2 separate regions of the Homo sapiens genome follow, and region 1 is linked to region 2. The links are contacts of gene promoters, found by promoter capture Hi-C in blood cells and fetal thymus (Javierre and others, 2016). All regions are on one chromosome and are shown on one strand. Each heading gives the region's core, a stretch centred on a gene start or on the middle of the fragment in contact. The rest is flanking DNA. Distances are from core to core; before and after follow the strand shown.

The links. The method cuts DNA at HindIII sites, captures the fragments that hold promoters and counts their contacts. A CHiCAGO score of 5 or more calls a contact.
Region 1: a fragment that was not itself captured here is called in contact with the fragment with the promoter of ZNF496 in region 2 in 1 of 17 cell types (fetal thymus); the score reaches 6.2 in fetal thymus.

What each region holds. Positions count from the first base shown.
Region 1 is chr1:244,443,214-244,448,848 of GRCh38, forward strand. All of the region lies in intron 1 of ADSS2 (adenylosuccinate synthase 2), which reads right to left. Among named protein-coding and RNA genes, the nearest start is that of ADSS2, 5.9 kb to the right of the region's middle. The HindIII fragment of the contact is 1,046 bases long and covers 1,351-2,396 here.
Region 2 is chr1:247,329,687-247,335,216 of GRCh38, forward strand. It overlaps ZNF496 (zinc finger protein 496), which reads right to left and starts at 2,181. Exons shown (of 10, transcript NM_032752.3): 1 at 2,104-2,181; 2 at 1,746-1,961; 3 at 280-395. ZNF496-DT (ZNF496 divergent transcript) reads left to right here and starts at 2,368. Exons shown (of 3, transcript NR_168399.1): 1 at 2,368-3,560. RefSeq lists silencers at 1,219-1,458, 2,029-2,138, 2,269-2,748, 3,861-4,155 and an enhancer at 2,061-2,355. The HindIII fragment of the contact is 9,597 bases long and covers 1-5,530 here.

The sequences.
Region 1 (5,635 bases), core at 624-3,123, 2.9 Mb before region 2:
AAATTTTCCACAAACCAAACTTGGTAAGTTATCTCCCACAAATGTATTAGTCTTATAATCACATTAACAGTTACACTAACTACCTCCTGCTTCTTTGCCAAACTCCCGTAACACTTATGATCCCAGTCACTCTTGTAGCATTTAACAAATACTTTTCATTATCATAGCTGTATATTCTATATTACTTAACAAAAAAATAGAATATGTTCAATTAATAGTTATATAAACAAAGGGCTGTGGAATCTCAACGTTGTTTCTGGATCAATTATATCCAACAGGGAAAACATTTAGTAATAAATCTCAGAGATAATTTTTTGAACTTTGTTTTTCCTAGAAATAAGTCATATTTCTGAGTTGGTAAAATGCTTTTCTGAACGTACATTTTTGGTATCTGGCACAGTCAACCAAATGTCTGTCCATTTTTGTGTAGCCTTTATACAGTACAGATTTCAGACATCATCCTTGCATCTGAATATTAAAAACATTTGACATTGTTTTTTTCAGTCCGCACAACACCCCTATGAAGTAGGTGGTACTGACTATTCCACAGATGGGGAGGCCTAGGCACGGAAAGGTTTAGTGGCTCCTCACAAGCCACGTGGCAGGGAGGCGGAGTGGCAGAGTGGCGGAGCGGCTCTCCAGCCACGTGCTGACACCGCCTTCTCATTCACACTTCCATCAGTGCCACAACACTGCATGGCAGGCTTTCAGGTTGAGGCCAATTTTTAAACCATTTTACTTCTGAAATATACCCTACCCCCCACCAACACCCCAAGAAACAAAAAACAGCATGAGTCCACAAGTAGCTACGTGGCAGGTTTCTTTGAGGAAAAGCATAAGCTTATAATGCCTTATATGATGTTCTTCTTATATTAAATACCAAGAATAAATGCAGGTTAATTTTATTAAAGTGAACAATATATGAAAGAAAATTCAATTGCAGTCACAAAACATCCCCTAATATAGTATATATTTTACCAATTTTCTTTGACTGTTATTCTTACATTAAGATGAAATACAGGCCGGGCGCGGTGGCTCACGCCTGTAATCCCAGCACTTTGGGAGGCCGAGGCGGGCGGATCACGAGGTCAGGAGATCGAGACCATCCCGGCTAAAACGGTGAAACCCCGTCTCTACTAAAAATACAAAAAATTAGCCGGGCGTAGTGGCGGGCGCCTGTAGTCCCAGCTACTTGGGAGGCTGAGGCAGGAGAATGGCGTGAACCCGGGAGGCGGAGCTTGCAGTGAGCCGAGATCCCGCCACTGCACTCCAGCCTGGGCGACAGAGCGAGACTCCATCTCAAAAAAAAAAAAAAAAAAAAAAGATGAAATACAAAGAAAATATTAAATAAGCTTCTTAATTACCAGGAAAAAATGTATCTCATCACAGAGCTATGAAATAAACTGGAACATCATGATAGAAACAAAAAGCAGGACTAAAATTCTATGTTCTCAAAGCTGAAAAGCAAAGTTTCTGATGTATGCTTTTAGTTTTTACCATCAATACATAGCTAATTTTCATTATTTTAATTAAGGTTAAAATAATAAAAACCAATTTAACTCTATTTTTTGTTCCAGAAAAGCACTACAGGTCAATAGCACATTAGAGTTTTGGAAAACAATTTATAAATGAGAACAATCCAGAACAAATGCTTCCTCATACCTTATTTTCCTATACAAAATTAACTCCAGGTTAGTTATAGCTTTTGTATGCTCAGTCCCCCTCCTTTTCCCCTACTTTGCAAATCATAGGAATCATCCCCCCAGCCACAGCAAACTGATCCAGGCAGGGAAACATGTTCCAACCTGAGCCAGTCAGCTCCTCTCCCTTGGGAATCTGAATTTGAGTACTGAGAAGGAAAGCAATAGCAGTCTGAGATGCCTGTCACCTACGGGAAGCATCCTAAAGAAAAAGGTTGCCAGTTCTAGCTGCTGAAATTCCAGGAGCAGGCTTCATCTCAGGCCACCATCCTGCTCTTCCTTTAAACAAATCCCCATTTTGCTTGAGATAGTTTCTTTCCATTGCTTGCAAACAAAGAACACAAATGATTCACAAAAAAAACTTACTACAACATAATATACACCTTGCTGAATTTACATCTTGTACTAGTGAAACTGAATATTAAAATGATTGCTAGATATTAATAACATTTTATGCTGTCAAGGACAATACTTTAAAGCATTACTGCAGGATAGAGGAATGATATAATAGTATTTAGTTATTCTGTAACTGTTCTCAGTTTTTCCATGCATTCCTTTTCTTCCTAATTTGATGTTTAGTTTAAGGAAGTCGGAAGACAAGTGTTTTGAATTTTCTTTCCATGACTCCTCAGAACCAGAGGCTGTCAAATCCAATTATAGAATAAAATTTTGGATCAGGAAATGCTAATATGTGTAAGCTTCTAGCTAAGAAGCTCCAAAGGTCCAGGGGAGGTTAAAAAAAAAAAAAGTTTGGAAAGGAATTAAATGATATTAGTTTACAAAAGTGACTCTTGATTCTTAACTTGGTTTCACTACTGGGCCTTCTCCTTCCCTAAATCACTCCTTTCTTCGCTCCCCCAAGTGCATTTCTGCTGTGGTAGAGAGATGAAGGCAGTGAATGATCCTCAGTGTTGTAAACCTGAAACAATGGTCTCTTTTCCAGAATACAGGCCCAAGTGTCAAGGGCTACCAATTTCATGCACAAAGCCCAGAGGCATTTTTCAGGCTAGTTAGGCCTCTGTGTCTTATCTTTGTCCTTTTGCTTTGAATATATGAACAACCTACTGTAATCACAGAGCTCAAAATGAACATCAGGAAGTCAGTGGCCACTATGGATTACAGGAGAGAGCAGCAGTGTCTCAGATCCCATGCCCCTGAACTATTTCAGCAACCAAAAAAGGGTTGCTATTTTTTTGTCTAATCTTCAAACTTCTTAAGAGCCTAAAAATCTTTGGAGTCAATGCTTATTATCTATGCTGCTTTCAGGGTAAAGATTGTAAGATCTGTGTCTCCTCCTTTCCAGATGAAACATGTTACCATTCACCAAAACTAAAGCACTTATCAATCCACAGCAATAAAGCAGTTATAAATGATGATTGTTCTTTCATGAAAGCATTCACATAACTGCAATTAGCTTATGATTCCAAAGTAGAGCAGGTTAAGTTACTACCAGCAAGTTGATCAAATTTAACTATGTAGCAGTAACCAGACACACTAGACAGCAAGAGAAAAAAATACACAGGGTATCTGAATTTCTTTCTAGCAAAGATATCCCAGCTCAGTTATCCATTAAAGGTTTAAAGGTATCCACTTTACTTTGCATGATTATAGTTACCTTCTAGTTTCATACACACATAAATGTCACAAATGATGAAAACCTCAGATACCTTATATTTTAGACCTAACATTACTATTATGAAATAACTTCTCACAATGAAAGTGGAAAGGGGCCTTGCCTGAGAGAATCTTAGGTTCCTAAGAAGCTTTAGACTCTGGGTACCAAACTCTAATATTCTTTCACACTCACCAAACCAGGGTCATAGATGAGGCCATAAGACATCCAACCAAAAATGTATAAACCAACGATGTCACACAGCTCTTTGTAAATGTTTGATAAAAATTCACCTAATTAAATTCATGAAAATATTTTCTTAAAAACACATTGAAATTAAACTACAGATTTCAAGTCAAAAAAGTTTTCTCAATAATAAAATTCTTCCTTTAAAAAAGATGTTAAAACTTAATATAGACAAAAATCTCATTTTTAGAAATCTCATGGAGCCTCTTTTCAAAAAAGAATTTTGTTATATGAATCAAATATAAATTTTGGTTCAATGTAAAGAACTATCCCATCCCAGAGCCAGATTAGCCACAGGAACTCCCCTTCATTTATTGTTCTTTTCATTGCTTTCAGCAGGCAATACTGAATGTTGATGTTTCTGTTGCTAAAAGTATTACAATAGTCACCAATTTTAATTTATCAATATGTAGCTCATCCACACTAATCTTTGGTGTCAACATCTGACACAGTCCCTGAGAGATAAGATAGCTGGATTCGTATCCAGTTACAGAAAGAAAGCTATTAAGTAAATATCAATTTATTGGTTCATTCTAGATTTGCTCTAGGCAACAGTTTTTCTTAGAGATACTTGTAAACATCCAACAAACCCATCCATTCCCACCAAAGTTAAAGAAACAGAATAATTTTGATCAGACACCACTGAGATGGTCTCATACACGTTTAAAAACTCATGCCTCAAAAGTAGAGCTGACAGGATACTATATTTACTAACTGCAATAGGACATCCTCATTGACCGAACATTGAGATTTACTGTCCTCAGCGGGGAATAACTAGTTACTAGAACCCCACATGGTATTCAGTCGAAATATGTTGAGGAGATACATGAAAAAGATATAAATATCAGTTACCTATTTTCTCCTAAAAACAAGAGATAAGATTTTAATATAAACAAAGACTTTGAATGGTACAATGTAAAAAATTCCAGCTGAAAAACTAAATAACAAATGTTAATCCAAGGAATGCTAGGAATTCCGCCTTAAATGTATGCCACCAGTCAATTAAATTGTCCAGAGAGATGTTAAAACAATTACAAGAAAGGGTTACTATTATTTATTTCAAATAAATTTCCAGGGGTGATCTTGCCACCCAGAATACATTGGTTGAGTATTTCCCTTCTGCTTCATATAGTATTAGGTGCTACAGAATAAGAAAAGGAAGAAGTCTCCCTTTTGAGAAAATTTACATTATAGTAGAGAAAGCACAGTAACCAAACAGAACAAGATTTAACCAAGTATAGTATAACAGACATTGGTAAATACTTATATACTAGGGAAATGCTATAAATGATATAAAAAGAATCAGAAAAATGGAAATAGCAATTGTTATAAACCTGGAAGAATGGCTTACCTTAAATGCTAATTACCTACTATCCTTAAAATTATGGGAAGTAGTCTGGCAGATCATTTTAGCTGTACAAGGTCAAGGCATTAAATAATACTAACGTTATTTTCTTTTAAATTATCTTTCACCTTTTCTATTTCAAGGAGAAAGTTTTAGTTTGCTGCTGATATGTCTTTTATGCTTCTTTAACACTAATAGTGGTTTCAGATCTTCAGCAGATACTTGTATCTAGCTAGAAAATAGTAATATTTTTTCAGTATGTTTATTTTTATAGCAAGCTTTTATAAACATATATCAAGTGATGGGGTGTGCTTTCCCTTATGACTAACTTTAGTATTTTCTCTTTTTATTGACTTTGAAGCCTTGGAGAGAATACACACGGAACACTGCTCTAGCCTTTCCCGATCACAGGCAACTTCATGTGTGTCATTATAACCAAGACCACCGAAGTTACTTTCCTCAAGAACAATAAATAAGTAAGCCTTTGCTTAAAGCCTGGTATAAACTACTATAGTTAAGAAGTTTCTGTAGCTTCTACTCAGCAAAATACAGAAAACAAAGCACAGTATTTTACTTTGAGAGAACTGGGGAAAAAACAGTATTAGGCTTCCTTTTGTGATGCCAGAAAGGGACTTTCTTGGTCCCATACTTTAACCTCTTGAGAAACGTATTAGACTAGTACCTTTCTCCATCCCGACCTTCTCAACACTTTTGCTTACACAGCAGTTGTCC
Region 2 (5,530 bases), core at 931-3,430:
GGAAACTGTCAATGCCCTCAGAGACCAGCCCTTTGGAGAAGCCCTGGGAAAGGTAGGGAGTGTTGGTGTGGCTGGTCTTTACACACAGGATGAAACAGACAGAAAGATGCCCTCCCCCCATCAGTACCATTACGTGTGGATTCCCGTTAAGTGGGTGACTGGATGAACAAGACAGGAAATCTGGGAGAAAGTGGTGGCATTTCAACGTGACACTGCTGTTTTGAGCATCCCAGGAAACCAACAGCGCCACATGCAGATGTAATCAAGACGCTCTGGTACCTTGGGTGGCTGGGTCCTCCTGGAGAGATCCGAGATGGGCAGGCCAAGCAGGCCACTATCTTGAAGCTCCGGAGCCGAAGTCACTGTTCTTGTTATTAAGACCTTTACAAATGGAGCTGGAATGACAAAGACATGCATCGGATGAGCCTTCAAGCACATCCAGGAATGGAAAATCCACCCTTCTGGTGGCAGAGGGCTGATGGTGCTGCGTGCTGGATGGACAACCCAGCCAGAATCAGCTTTGCCCAGCAGAGTCTGCAATGGGAGGCAAGGGAAAACATCACATGAGACAGCTACATGCAGTCTACCAGGGACAAATAACACTGCATCTAGAAGTATCAGTGGTTTCCTATGAGCCTTCTGCCAATTCTGCCCTGACCTTCAACCTCGCCTCCACCCTATTCTCTATCCTTGCCCTCTTCAAACCACATTGAAGGCAACTGCACACTCGCCAAAGCCCTTCCTCGGCCAGGACAGAAAAGTGGGTCCGTCACTGCACAGCTCAGCCCTCAAAGAACCCCTGGACACTGCAGCTGCCACACCCCCAAGGTGGGACTCAGGGGTCCCTACACCTCCCCGCTGGTGTGCAGACAACTAGCCGACACTTTTGCCACAACTAGGGTGGCAAGAGACCAGCAACCAGTATACCTGGTGTTTATGATTCCCACTTTAGAACGCTGGGCCCGTGAAAGGGCACATGGGGACACTCACAGTCCCCTTCTCTGCCATCAGGCCTCTGTGATCCTTAGGACCGGCAGTGCCTGCCACTCCCCCATCTGCACGAGGTTGTCCAGCGTGGCCGCGTCTTAACCTCCAACAGCTCACAAGGTGGGAAGGGGGACTCGGGCCTCACTCCCATTTCACAGAAAGACAAGTGATGCCAGAAAAGCTACGGAACAACTGAGTGGTTCCAGAAACACCCACTGCTCTGAATCTCTTTGCTTTCCAAAGTAACAACATACACAGAAACCCATATGGGGGCCGTGGCGGCGTCGGGCTGGACGCATTACAGCGCTCCCCACCACCGGATCGCTTCCAGGGCGGCTCCGGCATCTGGAGCCCGGGGTGGGCCCCGCCCGCCCTGCTCGGCGGCCCCCTGCGGCGCCCATCACACACCTGCAGCGCCCAGGACTACTCAGGCCCGCCCCCCCGAGCACCGGCGCCCACCCGGGCTGCCACTCGGATCGTCTCCAACCAGACGGCCGCGTCCGTCTTTGTCACGGCGGCACCTGGCGCGTCGGAGGCTCGGAGGAGATGCCTGATGAATGAACTAACGTGAGTGAGGCGGAGGAGGGCCCCGCAGGGGCGGAGCGAGCTCCCAGCCTTTCGCGGAGGAGGGACCGAGCTGGATCGGCAGAAAGGGAAGGAGAAGGTCGCTGTGGGCCAGGGAAGGGGGAGCCCGCCCTCCGCGCCCTCGGTCTCCCTCACACGCGCGTCTCCCGTCTCGCCGGCTCCGGGCTCCTCACCTCACAGCCTGGAGCTCCCTCCCGGCGTCCGGCCGAAAACCCTCCTGTGGCGGCGGAAGTCCAGGGCAGCCGTCCTCATCCTCCCAGCCCGCCCGGCCGGGCGTACTCGCTGAGGCGGGGTCTCCGCAGGCGCCCGGCTCCTTTCCCGGCCCGTCCAGACCGCGTCTCCCGATCATCCGGAAAGCCACGGCTCGGCTCGGGGGCAAATGGAGGCGCCTGAAAAACAATGGTGTTGCTTTCTCCCCCGCCCGCACCTTCCTGAGCGCTGGGCTCTGGGCTGGGAGGCGGCGCCGCGGAGGCCGGGCGCGGGCCGAGGAGGGCGGGGCGGGGCCGGCCGCGGGAGCCGGGGTGCACTCACCGCCGCGGCGCGTCCCTGTTGGCGGGCGGCGCAGGCCTGGCCGCCGCGGGAGCCCGCCGGACGCCGAGGAAAGGAAAGGCCGGAGCCCTCCGGCTCCCTCCCCTGGGACACTTCCTGCTCCGCTCTAGGACTGGGGAGGTCTCCGCATCTCAGTGGTTCGCTCCCCCGCCCCCCGGCCGAGGTGTGCGCTGGGGGTGACATCCGACACCCCCGGCCCGCCCCGCTCCGCGCGCGCCTGGGCCTGGCCGCCGGGCCGGGGGCTTTGTGGGTCAGCCACGTCGCCGCGCCCGGGCTTCCCCGCGGGCCCGCCGGTCCGGAAGGTCGGCCCGGGGCTCTTTTCTCCGCTGTTCTCCTTCTCTGGCGCCCCCAGGACACGCGGCCAGTGGACGCCCGGAACGGCCGACCGGGAGTCGCGGCTGGGGATGGAAGCTGGAATTGGGGGTGCGGGATGGAGCGGAGAGAGGAGGCCCCGCGCGCCGTCGGCCGCCTCATTTCAGACTCCCCTGCGACCCCCCCCCCGCCGCCAGCCGAAGCCCGGGCCGCCCAGCCCCTCCTGCCGCTGCGGGACGCCGAAGGTAGCGCTCACATCCGCGCCTTCCGGGCCTGGCGCCCACGTGCGGAGTCCCCGGGTTAGGAAAGGCCGCGCATCCGGAGGCCACGCAGAGCCTCGGGGCTTGCGCAGAGGGGCTGCGGTGAGTCCTGACCCTGAGTGGGGGTCACGGGGCTCGTTGCTCGCTGAAGTGAACACGGTTGCAGCTGTGCACAGTGGCGGAGGGAGAGGATGAGGGACTCTGACCCAAGGTTATGTGGCAGTGAGGGGCAAGCAGAAATGGGGGCCTCCGGACCCCACCCCGAGACAGGGCTGCTGGCCGCTGCACTATGCTGAATATAGCCCAAATTCTTACATGGGTCGTCCCCGGGGAATGCTCATTTTTCAGGCTCCAGAGCTTGAGAGAAAGTGCGAACCCGGTCCCTGAGCAGGTCTGATTCCCATGGCCCCTTCGCCATCTGCTCTGCACCGAAATTGGATTCTCCTACGCAGAGGAGAAGGTGGAGAAGATTCTCCGTCTTCCGGAGGGTAGCTACTGCCGGTAGCTCCGATTTCCTTCGGATCCCCTTTCAAGGGCAAGCAGAAGGAAATCAGTTTCTCCAAAGAAAGTGGCCCGGCTGAGTAAGTGGGAACAAGGTGGTTGGACTGAGGCACGGGATCCTTTAGCTCCGTTGCTCTTCTAATCCCGTGGCCCTGGGCACCGCCACTTCCTCCTCTGAACTGCTGGAATAATCACTTCTGACTAGCAGAGTTACTGGGAGCCGCTGTTTGTCAGTGTTCACATTCTGACTTTAGCAGGAGATGGAGCGAGCGAAGGAGTGAAGCCCTTGTTTGTGAACAGTGATTGTTTCCCGGATGACAGCCAGATGCCGGGCAGGGCCACGCAGATCTTAGCTGGAGCCTACAGGTACAAGTGAGAGCCACCCCCTTTGACGTAACTGGACTGGCATTTACAGAACTCATGTACAGCCCACTCTCAGGAACACCAGCCAGGAACCGTGACATGGAGGAGAGGAATTGGGAGGAACCGAGGGGTCATCAAAGGCTGGTAGGGCTTAGGTGCTCTAGCAAACATCCTAGTCTGTGGGGTTCCAGAGCTCTGGTGCTACAGCTCCCAACCCTTTGATTGGCCCAGGAACTGGCTGTTGAGTGGGCATCCGTGTTCATAGCTCTGCCCCTTGCAACCCTAAAGCAGATAAAATGCAGGAGGCAGAAATTGCTGGCAGACAGCATCCAATTAATCCCCACTACCCAATTCAGTTTCTTCCCCTGACCTGACACGTCCCTGCCCAGCTGTGCCTCCCACTGTTCACCTTTTGAGGCACAAAACGGGCTGTTTATGCTGCTGCTGCATTTAGCTCAAAACAGGGCTTCAGAGTCAAGGTTCTGGACTCAGGCACCCGGATTAAATCCTGCCCTATGAATTCCTAGCCAGGTGACCTCAGGCCTACATAACCTTTCTGTACCTCAACTTCCTCATCCAGAAAACAGGGATGATGCTGTCTACCTCATTGGATGGTTGTGCAGGATCAAAGATTCAGTCATTCAGCAAACCTATACCGAGTACCTACTGTACACTCATGAGTGCTAGGCAGCCAGCCTTCCAGGTGCTCAGGTACATCTGTGAACACAACTGGCTATTGGAGGAAGCAAAATCAGTAACATGACCTGCTCTCTTTGATCTGTGCTACAGAAAAAAAGGAAAGTGGAGAGGCATCAGGAAGTCAGGAGTGCTGGGGAGGGGCTGGTAACAGTCATGGTATTAAAGAGGAGGGCAGGCAGGCCTTACTGTGAAGGTGGTATTTGAGATGAAGTAGTTGGTCAGAGTCCCTGTTTGACACATGGAGACCACCTTGACAGCAAAGGCCCTAAGGGGGAGCGGTGCGAAGCAAGGTGGGCTGGTGAGTGAGAGGAGAGGGATGGCATAGAGCTGGGTGGGGGCACAGGAGCCCGTGGGGAAGGTGTTCGCCTCTGAATGAAGTGGGGTTGTATCAGATACCACGGGTGAAGCATCGGGAAGAGGATCCTGCCTGTAAACCCTGCTCAAGGACTGCACCATCATCATGCCCAGTGTGTGCGTGTATTAGGTTTGTATGAATATAATGTTGCCAATTGTATCTGTTTTTATGAAATGTTTGCTATGTGCCAATGATTATTCGATCCATGGGGAGACCATAGAAGAATGATCCAAGGAGTTGGGAGGGGAATCAAATAATAAATCAGCGATTCTGCAATATAACGCCATTGGTGATCGGTGTCATGAAAGAAATACAACATGGTGGGGAAGAGTGTGCTGGGGATGTTCAGGTAGGGCCTCTGTCAGGAGGTGACATTTGAGTGGAGAGCAGGTGGGGGGCTCCTGAGCAGAGGTGTGTGGGAAGAGTATTCCAGCAGAGGAAACAGCGTGTGCTTGCTCAGCTGGGCAGAGGAATAGTGAGAGAATGGTGAGGCTGGAACCAGGTCACCAGATGTTATAGTCATTAGAGGGTTTCAAGTAGGAGTGTGGCCTAACGGAATCTTGATTTTATCAAGATCACTGTGCAGAACAGATGAAGCAGAGTCTCTGTTAGGAATCGTTGTAGAGATCCCGGCAGGAGATGCTCGGTTCCTGGAGTTGACTGGTGGAGGCACAGCTGGTGAACAGTAGGCCCAATCCAGGCTCTGTGTTGAAGGCATGCTGCCTGTGTTAGAGGAGTGAGGAACGGCTGTGACTGGGGCTGAAACTGGGTGACTGAACAGGCCTTCTAGAGATGGCAGATGCAAGGAAGCAGGTTTCCAGGAAGGGGTTGGGTTTGGGGTTGAATTGGTGGATTTGGGACTTGCTGGTTTTCAGATGCCCAGGAGACAAGTGGGGATGACCCTCTGGGATAGAAAGCT